5 separate regions of the Homo sapiens genome follow, and regions 1, 2, 3 and 4 are each linked to region 5. Evidence: promoter capture Hi-C in 16 types of primary human blood cells and fetal thymus (Javierre and others, 2016). All regions are on one chromosome and are shown on one strand. The core of a region is centred on a gene start or on the middle of the fragment in contact, and the rest is flanking DNA. Distances in the headings are between cores, read along the strand shown. Region 1 overlaps IDS (iduronate 2-sulfatase). Region 2 has its middle 10 kb from the start of TMEM185A. Region 3 overlaps TMEM185A (transmembrane protein 185A). Region 4 has its middle 42 kb from the start of IDS. Region 5 holds the start of FMR1-AS1 (FMR1 antisense RNA 1).

Region 1 (2,700 bases), core at 1-2,500, 1.6 Mb before region 5:
AGGTGGCTACATCCTGCCATCGCCAGGCACCATGGTTGCCTGATGGGCACTAGTGTCCTCAGTGGAGTAAAGATGGGATTTAGAGGTCAAGGCCAAGAACATGTAAGAATCTTGTAAGAAATGCTTGGCTTTCCGCTTCACTCCACTGGAGGGTTTGATTTCCTTTCCTTGAACTTATTGAGCAGATGTTGGGTTGGATGGTGAGATCACCACAGAGTAGTGAATCAGAGCTGGCTGCCAAAGCCTGTAATAAGGGATGGCCCTTCCAAAACAGCCCCAGGGAATGTGAAACTCTCTTCAAAAACTGCCTGTTCCCCCTGAGCCTGTCAGGTTAGATCATCTAAACACAAAGCACTGCATTGCTTCTTGGAACCTCAAATCCTGTACTTGCTTGTATGTCATTTAGAGCATGTAGTCTTTTCTGTTTTAGAATCCTTTTCCATTTTTCCCTATCATGTTTTATGAGGGCCTGAGCATCCCATCCTTTTGACTTTGCAGAGAATGCCCCTCACATGTAATGAGAGTAGAGACCAGCAGTATGCTCTTTGATGTTGCAGGTATCTTGCTTTGATTGGCCCAGGGGATCTTGCTTTCCTAGTAGGAGCTGTCAGCCCCCTTGATAGAAGAAGGCTGTGAGGTTCACCTCTCCTGCCTCTTTGCAGAAAACAGTTAACAAAGCTGGCCTGGCTGTGATTCTTTGAAAGGCCTGCTTATAAGTCTAGCCCTTGGCTGGCATCTGGGAACTTTGATTTCTGAAGTGTTCTCACTATTCCCAGAATTGGCTTACTATGCTTAAACCGTTTAGACAAACATTATGGTTGATGATAAACCCCTGGGTTTGTTTTTTTTTTTCTGGGAGCCTGGAATTTTGATATGTTCCAGACAGATAGTACCTACCTGACCAGCCCCAAATAAAAACTGGATAATGAGGCTTTAATGAGCTTCCCTAGTTAGCAGCATTTCACATGTATTGTCACACAACTCGTTGCTGGGAGAAGTAAGTATCCTATGTGACTTCCCTGGAAGAGGACTTGAAGCTTGTGCCTAGTTTCCTCTAGACTTTGCCTCATGTGCCTTTTTTCTTTGCTGAGTGTGTTTCACTGTAATAAGTCATAGCTGTGAGTGAGACTAAATGCTGAATCCTATGAGTTCCCCTAGTGAATTGCTGAACCTGAGGGTGGTTTTGGGAACCCAACACCTCACCACACTTTTCTAGCCAGGCAGGAGGTGGGGACAGGAACAGAAGGGCGTCTGTTTGTATGAAGGAAGAGAGTTGTTGCTGCTCAGTTTGTAGGAAACAGAAGTCGTATGATTTCATTGCCATTGGCATCTCATGAGAGTAACTTAAGGCTGGACTTCCAGGTCAGGGCCGAGCACGTGGGGAATGCTAGTGAGCCACCACTCAAATGCATCCCAGGCTTAGAGAAAAGGCAGTATAGACAGTGATAGAGCCACAAGCTTGTGCTTTTGCTAAAAGAGTGACAACTTTGTGGCTTTGTGTTTTTCCCCAAGGAATTTCAGAAGTTGTATCCCTTGGAGAACATCACCCTGGCCCCCGATCCCGAGGTCCCTGATGGCCTACCCCCTGTGGCCTACAACCCCTGGATGGACATCAGGCAACGGGAAGACGTCCAAGCCTTAAACATCAGTGTGCCGTATGGTCCAATTCCTGTGGACTTTCAGGTATCAAGGACATAGTTTGGGGATGTATTGGACACTGATGACATAGTGTCGTAGGTGAAACCACTCTTCTCAGTAGACACAACTCCACCTATAATGTCTTATTAAGAGCTTTCTTTGTGTGAGTTATCAGGCAAAGTGCTGGGGTGGAGGTGTCCTATAGGTATTTAGGACACAGGCAGTGTTGCCTGGATCAGGACTCTCCCAACCAGTGTCTTACTTTCTAAAGAAGGGAATGTCCAGAGAGTTGGTGACTTGTTGTGTGTGGACACAGAGGTGGGGAACCAGCCTGGGTGACCGTTCCTAACCCAGGGGATACTGTTCAGGTGACAGCTCATTAATTGTAGAGTGATGGGCAACTCCCGAGCAGCCCAGAATGCTTGGTTTGCTGGTACTTGCAGGTTCCCTCTGTGGGAAAGCCCATCCTGGCTAGCTGTCACTCTCAGGGGGTGGCTTGGTGAACAGGCCCTTGGTGCAGAGGGAACTGGGACACCATCATGGCCAGTGCCACCCAGCTGTGATGTCCGGCATTCCTTTGCCATGATTTAGGGGCGGAGCAACCACACAATTAGAATCCTCACACTGACTCATCAGTCACCCTTTCTCCCTGGAGAGCAGAATACACATTGACTAATGCTCTTTCTGGAATATTCCACACAGAACCCTGCCCTTCTCTTACCACATGAATGCTGTGGCAGGCAAGCTATAGCGGATGGAAGATGGCAGTGTTTTCAAAGTGTGCATCCTGGACTACCTGCCTTAGAATTTCTGGGAGGGCTTGTTGGAAATGCAAAGTCTTGGCCCACTCAGATTTACACAATTGGAAGCTGGAGGTGGAACTTGACCTGACAACCGACATTTCTTAAAAAAAAAAAAAAAAAGCACACCAGGTGATTCTGATTCATCAGAAGTTTGAGAGCCTCTGCTGTAGAGTATTGTTTAAAGCAAACACAGAACAAAACCACTGCATACAGATATCCCTTGCTATCCAAACTTACTTGGCCCCTGAGTTTGCACAAC
Region 2 (2,865 bases), core at 362-2,861, 1.7 Mb before region 5:
AGTGATGCTGGAATTCCTGCCAAGAAGCAGAGAAAAGAAATAACATTATAAGAAAAGTTGAATTGCTTAACATGTACCGTAGATTGGATTTGCAGCTGTAGTTGCCCACTGTTTCAAGATTAATGAAATCTGCATAAGAACCATTGTAAAAACAAAAGAAAAAAGAAAAAGAAAAAGAAATTCATGAAGCTGTTTCTGCAACTACATCAGCAGGTGTGAAAACCTTGCACATTTTGTGAAACACCTTTTTATCCCATATGGCAAATGCAGCCTTTATGTGGTGCAGAATTGCCACAAGAAAGGCATACCTATAGATTCTAATATGAATCCAGAAAAATCCAAGTTATTATATGATAACTTAACGCAAAAGATCCGTGTAGAATATAAAGCTGGAGAATATAATGCCAGCAAAGGATGGTTCAATAATTTTATTATGTATATACATATATATTTAAATATATACATAATAAAATGAAATATATATATGTATACACATTATATATAAACTGGGCCAACTGAGGCCAGATATTGGGGAGTATGGGCAAGTTTGGGCAAAGCACAGGTATATATATATATATATATATATCCATATATATATACCCACTGGGATAGAGGCAGTGGTTTGATAATCTTAGAAAGAGATTTGGCTTGAAAAATGTCAAGATAACAGGAAAAGCAGCTTCTACTAACCAAGAGGTAGCAGACAAGTTCCCAGACGTCATTAAGAAAATTATTGAGAAGAAAACATATCTGCCTGTACAGGTTTTTAATGCAGATGAAAATACCCTACTCCGGGGGAAAAATGCCACAAAGGACATTAATTAGTGAGGAAGAGAAGGAAGCACCAGGATTTAAGGCACAAAGCAATAGGCTAACTCTATTGTTTTATGCAAATGCAGTCAAGTTTGTGATCAGGACTGTCCTTATCTATAAAGCTGCTAACCCTCAAACCTTGAAAGGGAAAGATAAAATATCAGCTTCTAGTCTTTGGGTTGTACAACAAGAAAGCCTGGACAATTAGAACACTTATTCTGGATTGGTTCTATCGATGCTTTGTCCCTGGAGACAGGAGGTACCTTGGCAGTAAGTGACTGCCTTTTAAAGTTCTTTTGCTATTAGACAATGTCCCTGGCCACCCAGAACCCAATGAGTTCAACATTGAGGGTGCTGAAATGATCGAAGTTATCCCCAAACACAAGGTCTCTAATTCAGCCTCTAAATCAGGATAAGGACTTCTAAGGCTCACTACACATGGTACTCTATGGAAAGGATTGTCAACGCTATGGAAGAGAAACCCCATAGAGAGAAAATTATGAAAGTCTGGAAGGATTTTACCATTGAAGGTGCCATTATTGTTATAGAAAATCTGTGAAAGCCATCAAACTTTAAACAATAAATTTCTGCTGGAGAAAATTATGTCCAGATGTTGTGCATGACTTCACAGGATTTACGACAGAGACAAATAAGGAAACAATGAAAGAGGTTGTGGATATGGTCCAAAAGATGGAATGTAAAAGATTTCAAGATATGAATCTTGAAAAAATTCAAGAGCTAATAGACACCATGCCAGAGGAAATAACAGAAGGTGACTTGATGGAGATGAGTGTTTCCAAACCAGTGACAGATCATGAGGAAAAAGATGTATAAGAAACGGTGCCAGGAAAAAAAACTAACACTAGACAATCTGGCAGAAGGGTTCCAATTTTTTAAGACTGCTTTTGACTCCTTTTACGACATGGACCCTTCTATGATGTGGGCACTGAAACTAAAACAAACAGTGGAAGAAGGATTGGTACCATATAGAAACTTTTAGATATAAGAAAAAGAAAATTACAACGTATTTTCATTCAATTACACTGAGTATGCCTGCCTCTCCTGCTTCCCCTCCTACCTCTTCCTCCTCTGCCAGCCCTGAGACAGCAAGACTAACCCCTCCTCTTCCTTTTCCTCAGCCTACTCAATGTGAAGATGATAATGACGCATATCTTCATGATGATTTACTTCCACTTAATGAATAGTAAATATATTTTCTCCTCCTTATGATTTTCTTAATTTTTTTTATAGTTTATTGTTAGAATACAGCATATTATACACATAATACACAAAAATATCTGTTAATCAACTGTTTACATCATCAATAAGGCTTCCAGTCGACAATAGCTTATTAGTTAAGTTTTGGGGGAGGCAAAAGTTATAGGTGGATTTTTGACTGCATGGAGGGTCAGTGCCCCTAACTCCCATGTTGTTCAAGGATTAATTGTAGTTGCTTTATGTTGGACATCTGCAAAACAGTTTATGGGAGATACTACAAGTGCTCATCTATGTCTTGTCCTCCTTTCCTTCCTGAACACAGGGGAACATCACAGTCCTTTTGAAGTTAGGAAGGGTCATGTGATTACTCTTTGCCACTGAAATAGAAGCAGACACATTATTTTGTCACAGTCATTTCTATTGAAGGTGCTGCAGAAGCAATACATTAATTCTCAAACCATAACAACACAGAACACAGATCACTCTACACCTAGGAGTTGTCATACACATTTGCTCCTTTAGATGTGAGAAACCAGATTCTGTGCATTTAAGGCCCTGGGTAGGAATCACCCCATAGGATGCTGACTACAGGAAGTTTTTCATGTGACCTGCAACCTTCAGGCTTCCGAAAGTGGTGTTGTCCTCCTCAGTATGGGTGGAAGGCAGTGGCCAAAATAGCCAAAATCTCAGTTGAGACCAGGGGTTTCCTTCTCTCGTTGCTGTGCCCAAATGTGCCCATAGTCCCCAATACTTGGCCTCAGTTGGCCCTGTTTACAGCTTTACCGTTCTTATCTCTACTAACAACCACTGGGCCCAAGACAGGATCTGATGATT
Region 3 (2,700 bases), core at 18-2,517, 1.7 Mb before region 5:
TCTTCCTACTGGCCTGGGCTCTGCTTTTATTTGGCTTTTGTGCTTTTTTGTATCTACTGGTTAAATGCTCTTAAACATTTTTTATCTTAATAAAACCAGCTAAAGTCTCCACTAAAAGACTTTAAATTTGGTTAATAAGGTGTAAGAGGGGCAGTTCCCTTGATAGTTTGTGAGTATGTCAGGTTGTCATTTGGAGCCATTCTGTCAAGCTTTAGACTGGGATGTGCCATCCAAAGTTTGTGTGTGTGTATGTGCTTGTGCGTGTGTACGTGCATGCAGGCATGTGTTAATGCGCGTGTATGTGCTCCAGTGAAGCCAGCAGCTTCCACTGGAAAAAAACTGATAGGTCTAAAAAGAGTCCAGCTGCATTCTTATGATATGCAGAAAACAGATACTAGAACTTTTACATTCAGAGTCATCATTCCTTTGCTAAGTATATTCTCTCTCTCCCTCCCTTCTTCCTTTTCTCCCTCCCTATTCTCCCAACCCTGCAAAGTGGAGAGAGGGAATTTGAGCCTGAGCAGAAAGCTCCATGTAAATTTCAGAGAGGATACTAGCTTTGGCCCAGGTAGCACTACTTAGTGATTCATCGTATACTAACACTACAGATTCAAATGAGAGTGGAATAAATCCATTCTAAAGGTGTAACTGGAAAAGTGAATTTTAAGAAGTAGTGATTAATGTTAAACCAGAACCTCCCATTTCTCCCAGGTTTGTGGAGAATTAAGCAGTCTATTTTTATACTTGGAATCTGGTCTGAATGTTTCTTGAAAAGTAACTCAAAGTAGTTTAGGCTATGACCATAAGTTATTTTTGTAAATACATTTTCTTATCACTGTATTATTGCATATTATTGTGTATTCTTTTGCAAATCAGGCTTGATATTTCCTTTTGGCTATGCAGTCACCTTTTAGACTTTGCTTGCAAATATATTGATATAGTTAAGATACTATTCTTTCTTTCCCCAACTAGGAGTGTGTATGAATTACATCTTTTGAACTTACTGATTGTATTACTTTGTTTTACTTGATCAACTTTGTAGTTTAATTTTTTTAAAAAGCTAGCTGTTGGGATTACTGATCAGTTTCATTTTTATATCTATATTTCTACTTTTAGTTTTATTATTTTCATGTTTTGGCTTTTTCCCCAAATTTCTTAGAAACTCAGTTTACTAGTTTTCTTTTGCCTCTTTTTTTTTTTCTTTGTTTTCTACTTTTACTTAAACATTTTAAATGAACACATTTTCTCTTGAGTTTTGTTTTGGCAGCTGCCCAGGTATTTTTATGTTTCAATTGTATTTTAGTAACTCTACTAAACTGCTTAACAAATCAGTATTGAAAATGATCCATTTTTTGTCAGTGTTTTTATGAATTGTATAAAATGTCTACCTCTGGTCTCTACTGATTACAATCTACCTTACACACTCATATGTATCTTCTGTCACTCTTGTTGAGAAAATCTGCAGTGGCCCCATATTACCTATTAATAAATTCCAAGGACTTTACCTTGATATTCACATTCCCCTACCATGTTACCACAGCCAACTTCTGGCTTATTCCCCCCAGTACCCTTTCTCCTGTCTCTGCAGCACCCTACCCACCACGATTTATAGAAAGTATTCTGTGTGTTCCAGTCTGCTGGAATTGGAGAGGGGAGGATAAAGAGGGGATGAGCAATGGGTACAATAATACAGTTAGATAGAAATAATAAATCTAGTGTTTGGTAGCACAAGAGGGCAAATATAGTTAATAATGTATATTTGCAAATAACTAAAAGAGTGGAATTGAAATGTGCCTAACACAAGTAAGTGATCAGTGCTTGAGGTGATGGATATCCCAGTTACTCTGATTTGATCATTACACATTGTATGCTTGCATCACAGTATCACGTGTACCCCATAAATAGGCACAACTGTTTTGTATCCATAATAAATAAAAATAATTTTTAAAAAATTGGAAAACATCTTATTCCCTTTGTCTGGAATTCCTTATTCCCAACTTGTTGCCCAGATTCCACTTCTCTTCCCATCTCTCTCAGGGAAATTAATCTTCCAAGTCCCCTAGTTTACCATATGTAGTTACTTGTTGATACATCATCTCCCTCTGTTCCTATTAGTCTGAGCATCTTGAGCGAACGCATTGTTGCTCCTTTTTATGTATCTCACACATTTCAGGCACTCAAATATTTTTAACAATTGTAAATTAGATGTGTGTTTATTGTGTATTGCTGCCCCATGATCCTTTTTTTCTCCCTGGAAAAACTATATATATGTAAAGCAAGTATGTTTTCTTGTTCTGCTACGTAATTATCTTCATATAAGCTTGCTGTTTTTTAAATTTTCTCGTTCTGCTACTTAATTCTCTTCATATAACCTTGCTGTTTTTTAAATCTACTCTTGTGTTCATTTCCGTATTTTCCTTAGGAACTTTGTCTGTTTTATCTGTCATGATTTAAGAGTAGCATGAGGAAGCCCACAATTAAAATATTTCTGTGTATCCTTAAAAAAGAAAAATTGTAAAATTATTTCCATATTCCATGGTCATGTTAGGTTTTTGTTATTTAGGTTTTCCTTATTAGTCCTTTTAGCATTTTAATACTTTCGGCTTTGAAATCTAATTTATCTAATTTTAAAGATAGTAAATTGTTGCTCTTGTCTTCATCCAGGCGTGCTAAACCTCTGTCATCTGATTTCTGATAGTT
Region 4 (2,700 bases), core at 129-2,628, 1.6 Mb before region 5:
AGATATGGCAGAAAACCTTTCTTGAAATCCATAATGAATTACTGAATACTGTAAACTAAATTCATACTATGACTCATACTACATTGAGAAAGTATCTTTAGGAACCTAAGTGCCTTAATGAAGAGAAAAGAATGATTTTTTATCAATATGGCAATTATTCATAAGTAAATAGGTGCTTTTAAAGCACTTGAGGAAAAGTACTTTCTTAAGTAGATTGTCTGACCCCTGAAATTATGTTTACACTACTAATTTCAGTGGGAAACTCTTTCATCATAGTCTATTAGTCGGTATCAGTTACATTATGCTGTGGTAACAAACAACCCCACACATCTTAGTGGTGTAACATGACAAAGTTCTACTTCTTATTCACATGATTTCTCCAAAGCAGATCAGCAGGGGGCTTCATTCCTCACACTCATTCAGGAATTCAGGCTGGTAGAGGCCCTCTTGTCAAAATTTGCTTTCACAATCACCATGGTGGGAACAAGGAACATGGAGAATTATGTGCTGCCTTTTCAATTTTCTGGCAGAGAGTGACATGGTCATGCGGTTATCCATACTTAACTTCTGGAGATCAGGTTCCCAGAAGGAGTACCAGAAATATTTAGTGAATAGCCTTAATGGCATAGACTCCAAAGGTAAATTCCAGGCTAGGCTGTATCTTATATCACAAGTTCCAAAATCATAGAATATACGTAAATGAGGTTTGGCTGATTTCATCAGTATATCAGAGTCTCCCAATCAGAGATAAGATCTCTTTCTGTAAGTAGAGCTCATAAGAATCAACGCATGTTGGAGGAACTGAGCCATCTGCAGAAGTGTCCCATCCTCTCACAGGACCTGTAAATGTGCTGCTGATAAAGGCTTCAGAAAGCACTGGGTGTAATGAGGGCGACAAGAGTTTTTCCTCAGTGCCGCATTATATTAAAAAAAAAGCTACTTTATAAATGGAACAAGTGAAACAACTTCTGCATTTCATCCCCTTACAGGTAATTAAGAAGAGAGAATAATACACTCTACCACACCTCTGGTAGAGTGTATTATTTATTCTCTCTTCTTAATTACCTGTAAGGGGATGAAACATCATCTGTGATTGTCATGTTACCTGCAGTAAACTCCTCCCCATATGGAAGGACCATAAACTCCTGTCCCATGGAGTTTTAACCTGCCATGTCCATTCCTTTAGCTAAAGAATGTGAGTGGATATAACCGACTACATCCCAGTAGAAGCTTTAAGAGCCATTGTGAATTTCTGCCAGCATTCTTTCTCTTTCCTTCTGCCAGAAATAAGAACATCATCTCCCAAAGGGAGATTGCATCATTCAGGCTGGGTTCTGGAATGAGAAGACACATGGAGCAGAATTGACCCAAACCAGTGACCTATACTGTATATGAGAAATAAATGTTTCCTTTGTAAGCCACTGAGATTCTGGGGTTGTTTGTTACTGCAGAAAAGCTGACCAACACACTAAGGAATGAAGGTGCCTCAACAAAAAATAAAAGGATCTTTGGTCTAGGAAAGCTTTTTATACTCCCCTTTAGTACACACAGGGAGGCCCCAGAAGGAAGAACGTAATGAGAGGAGTTGAGATAAAGAAGAGTTCAATCACCATGTGTAATAAAGGAACTGAAGAACTTGAGGAGAATTTTCAATTTTCAATTTTCTGCTGGAGCACGGGATGGTAAACTATGGCCCAAGGGCCAAATGTAGCCCACCACTTGCTTTTGTAAATGAGGCTTTATTGGAACACAGCCATGTCGATTCATTTATGCATTATCTTTGGCTGCTTTTGCTCCATAAAAGCAGAGTTCAGCAGTGATGACAAAGATCTTATGGTGTGCAAAACATAAAATATTTACTGTTTTGCCCTTTACAGAAAAAGTTTGCTGACAAATGTCATAGAGAGTGGATGAGATGGGGCTCTGAAATTTGTACAAGAGGAGAGGTAGGAAAATGATTTCTATAGAGAGAACAGACACAAGCAACAAGAGAGGAGATTGGAGTCTAAGAAGAAAGATACCCAAGGACAAACATTGTGGTAGGGAAACCAAGGAACTTTGAGATGTCTAATCTTCAATTCTGCATTGTTCCCTTTTCTGTTCTGTGCAGTAATTCCCCTCCACTATCCCCAAGCCTTAAGTAAGTCTGTTACATAGAGTATTCCAGTGCATGGGGTGTCTGGAGGAAGGAAGGAGAGAGAGACTGTTACAGACATTGCAAAGCAGGAGAAACTAGGATAATAACTGCCCCTTCTCACCTCTTGACGATTCCTTAACCCTTAGTTTCATCTCCTTGACAGACTGAGTTACTTGTCGCCGTTTCTTACTCCTTCTTATTCCCTGTTAATCCTTCCTGGCTTTTGCTCTCTTAACAAGTTTGTGTTATTGTTGAGGTCATCTGAGGTGCAGCTGTCCTCCTCAGTCAGGAAGGGCAGATTAGTAGTCTCTCAGTAGTCCTGAGCTCACACTCCCCCAATACCAACCATTGGTCCTTTGAGTAACCTCCTAGGATTCTTGGGGAGCAATGTAGATTTTTGCTTTCAGAAGGCTCTAGAATGGGTCAGAACAATAGGCAAATTAACTTCACTTCAAGACTGCTGGATAGTCAAGGATGAAAATTAACTGCCTATTTTCCATTACAAATTATGTTCATTCATCTTATCTAGGAGAGCTCTTTAGAGATTCTTTATTGGTGTCAAA
Region 5 (2,700 bases), core at 113-2,612:
CAAATTCAAAGGAAATGTGGTCAAGTTCTTAGGGGCACAAAAATATTTTCGCTCAGTTAAAAAAAAAATGCCCTAGTAATAATATACTCTCAGTTAATTACCTGAAGTTTCATGGCATATATTTAGGTCTTTGGAAACTTAAACACACACACACAATTTTTAAGTAGCAGCGCTGCTAATGGTTTTAGACGCTGAAGCATGTGCATTCCTGAATTTACCCCGTTTAACAAAAAGGGGGACGCGAATATTCACGATGATCAACTTCTTCAATGCACTGCTGGGCCATGTTAGGGTCTTCCTGAAACTTTTGGATCTAAAATCTCCTCCGAAATCCACAAAGAGAAGCCACTAAAAATCAGTTGCCATTGTGATTTGGTGCCGACTACCGCTTCTTACTACTCTTTCTTCACAGCCCTCGCCCAGAACAGTGGAGCTCTCCGAAGTCCCAATGCTAGACCGGAAAAGAGAAGCCAAAGGAGACCTGAAGCCCTCTTGGCGCTGCAGGAGGCGGCCCGGCTGAAGCGCCCCCCGCTCCTCCACAACTACCCACACGACAGGCCCGGATCCCGCTGGGAGATGATGTTTAGGAAAGGGGGAATAAGCCATCGCCGTCACTTAGCGCCGATTTCGGCCCTTCCCGCCCGGCTCTAGTACCTGCCGCCGGCCCTCGCCCATCCCCAGCTCACCCCGGCGGGGCTCGGCGCCGAAAGAGAACCCTCTCCTCGCTGGTCTCTCATTTCGATAGGCGCTAGGGCCTCTCGGAGTCGGAGAGGGGCTTCCAACAGGCCCCAAGTCCAGTCCTTCCCTCCCAACAACATCCCGCCGAGCGTGCCCTGGCACCCAGGCGCGGTGCTCGGGAAGAGGGCCCCGGGCCTGCCTCCCGCCGACACCAAGAAGAAAAGGGAGGGAAGGAAGGGCGAAGATGGGGCCTGCCCTAGAGCCAAGTACCTTGTAGAAAGCGCCATTGGAGCCCCGCACTTCCACCACCAGCTCCTCCATCTTCTCTTCAGCCCTGCTAGCGCCGGGAGCCCGCCCCCGAGAGGTGGGCTGCGGGCGCTCGAGGCCCAGCCGCCGCCGCCGCCGCCGCCGCCGCCGCCTCCGCCGCCGCCGCCGCCGCCGCCGCCGCCGCGCTGCCGCACGCCCCCTGGCAGCGGCGCCTCCGTCACCGCCGCCGCCCGCGCTCGCCGTCGGCCCGCCGCCCGCTCAGAGGCGGCCCTCCACCGGAAGTGAAACCGAAACGGAGCTGAGCGCCTGACTGAGGCCGAACCCCCGGCCCGCTGCGGGTGTAAACACTGAAACCACGTCACGTGATCAACGCTGTTCCCTCCCCCCGCGGGCTCAGCCCCTCGGCCCCGCCCTCTCTCTTCAAGTGGCCTGGGAGCGCGCGCATGCGCGCTGCTGGGAACCGGCCGGGGTGCCGGGTCGAAAGACAGACGCGCGGGCCGGGCGTGCGCGGGCTTGGTGGAGGGCGGGAAGGCTGAAGGGCGGTGACAGGTCGCACTGCCTCGCGAGGGCCAGAACGCCCATTTCTGCAGAGGTGCACTCAGTGGCGTGGGAAATCAAATGCATCCGGTTATCCCAGTTCGGCCTCTCTGGGATTCCGCGGGAGGGGGTGTCTGGTCTGGTTTGGTTTGGTTTGGTTTGGTTTGGTTTGGTCCGGTTCAAAGTAGCGCAGTCTGACTGAGCGGGAGGTGGAGTGGAAGGCGAGAATAGGGGTGAAGGATTAGACAGAAGAAGACTTTGAACTAGGAACAGTGGCAACCAGGGTGACCCAGGCTTTTGTGACCCGTAGAGGCAGAAGGTGAGGCGTCTACGCCCTCTCTCACCAGATTTTGGGCGGCCCTGTGGAGACACCCTGTGCCCTTTAAGGGACATGGATTGAGTCGGGATCTCAAAATGTGAGCCTTTCCTCAGACCCAGCTTTGACCCACGTACTCGCCTTTCCTCAACTCATTTTCATACTTTCACTTGACTATATATTTTTTAAAAATTGTGTTAAGCACTTGAGGTTCATTTCTGCCCCTACTGTATGTGCACCCTGTGCCAGAGGGTGGGGTGAACACGTGTGTAGCAGTCATGCGTCCTGTCCACAGGGGCCGATGCACCTCCTTGCAACCCTTTACATTCCACTGTGAAACAAACCTCAACTTTTTCTTATTCCTGTTTTTACACCGTGCTTATAGCTGCCTTAATCCATGTTCCCTTCGGGATGCTGGTATCCAACTGAGAAGTTGACGGAGCATCTATCGTGTGCCAGACACTGTGCTAAGTGCTAACGAGAAATCGGTGAGCAAAACAGAAAAGAAAAAAAAAGAAGAAACGACTGCCAGCATTGAACTTAGTACCTAGCAAAGTAGGTGGACATAAATCAAATTGTCAGACAAGTAAATGAGTAGTTGCAGCTGTGATAAGGGGTATGAAGAATAGGCGCTTCCATGATGGCGGAACATGACCTAGTCTGGGGTGGAGAAGGGGAGATGATTCCAGCTGGAATATGGCAGGTGAGAGTTAACTAATAGCACTGAGTTGGCAGAGGCAGGATGACCTGCCCCAGGCAGGTGCCCCAGAATGAGAGGATGTTGCTGCTGGTGGAACTCCAGCTTTAAAGCGGTGGATCTAGGGCCACATTCCTCAAGGCCATAGCAAACAGGAAAGACCTTTTGGACTAGGGTCTTTGGAGTAGTCACATGAGGCCAAGAA

The links. The method cuts DNA at HindIII sites, captures the fragments that hold promoters and counts their contacts. A CHiCAGO score of 5 or more calls a contact.
Region 1: a fragment that was not itself captured here is called in contact with the fragment with the promoter of FMR1-AS1 in region 5 in 9 of 17 cell types (activated CD4 T cells, non-activated CD4 T cells, naive B cells and 6 more); the score reaches 15.5 in activated CD4 T cells.
Region 2: a contact is called between a fragment that was not itself captured here and the fragment with the promoter of FMR1-AS1 in region 5, in 2 of 17 cell types (total B cells and activated CD4 T cells). The highest score is 6.8, in total B cells.
Region 3: a fragment that was not itself captured here is called in contact with the fragment with the promoter of FMR1-AS1 in region 5 in 3 of 17 cell types (total CD4 T cells, non-activated CD4 T cells and total CD8 T cells); the score reaches 8.7 in total CD4 T cells.
Region 4: a fragment that was not itself captured here is called in contact with the fragment with the promoter of FMR1-AS1 in region 5 in 1 of 17 cell types (M0 macrophages); the score reaches 9.6 in M0 macrophages.

The regions. Positions count from the first base shown.
Region 1 is chrX:149,495,329-149,498,028 of GRCh38, reverse strand. It overlaps IDS (iduronate 2-sulfatase), which reads left to right. Exons shown (of 9, transcript NM_000202.8): 6 at 1,513-1,683. Among named protein-coding and RNA genes, the nearest start is that of IDS, 8.6 kb to the left of the region's middle. The HindIII fragment of the contact is 421 bases long and covers 1,040-1,460 here.
Region 2 is chrX:149,640,680-149,643,544 of GRCh38, reverse strand. No RefSeq gene overlaps it. Among named protein-coding and RNA genes, the nearest start is that of TMEM185A, 10 kb to the right of the region's middle. The HindIII fragment of the contact is 5,543 bases long and covers 1-2,865 here.
Region 3 is chrX:149,622,122-149,624,821 of GRCh38, reverse strand. All of the region lies in intron 1 of TMEM185A (transmembrane protein 185A), which reads left to right. Among named protein-coding and RNA genes, the nearest start is that of TMEM185A, 8.3 kb to the left of the region's middle. The HindIII fragment of the contact is 2,111 bases long and covers 212-2,322 here.
Region 4 is chrX:149,461,659-149,464,358 of GRCh38, reverse strand. No RefSeq gene overlaps it. Among named protein-coding and RNA genes, the nearest start is that of IDS, 42 kb to the left of the region's middle. The HindIII fragment of the contact is 292 bases long and covers 1,233-1,524 here.
Region 5 is chrX:147,910,479-147,913,178 of GRCh38, reverse strand. FMR1-AS1 (FMR1 antisense RNA 1) reads left to right here and starts at 1,362. Exons shown (of 2, transcript NR_024503.3): 1 at 1,362-1,537; 2 at 2,184-2,700. FMR1 (fragile X messenger ribonucleoprotein 1) reads right to left here and starts at 1,260. Exons shown (of 17, transcript NM_002024.6): 1 at 949-1,260. The coding sequence starts at 999. RefSeq lists enhancers at 840-939, 1,520-1,729 and a silencer at 1,100-1,439. The HindIII fragment of the contact is 5,224 bases long and covers 1-2,700 here.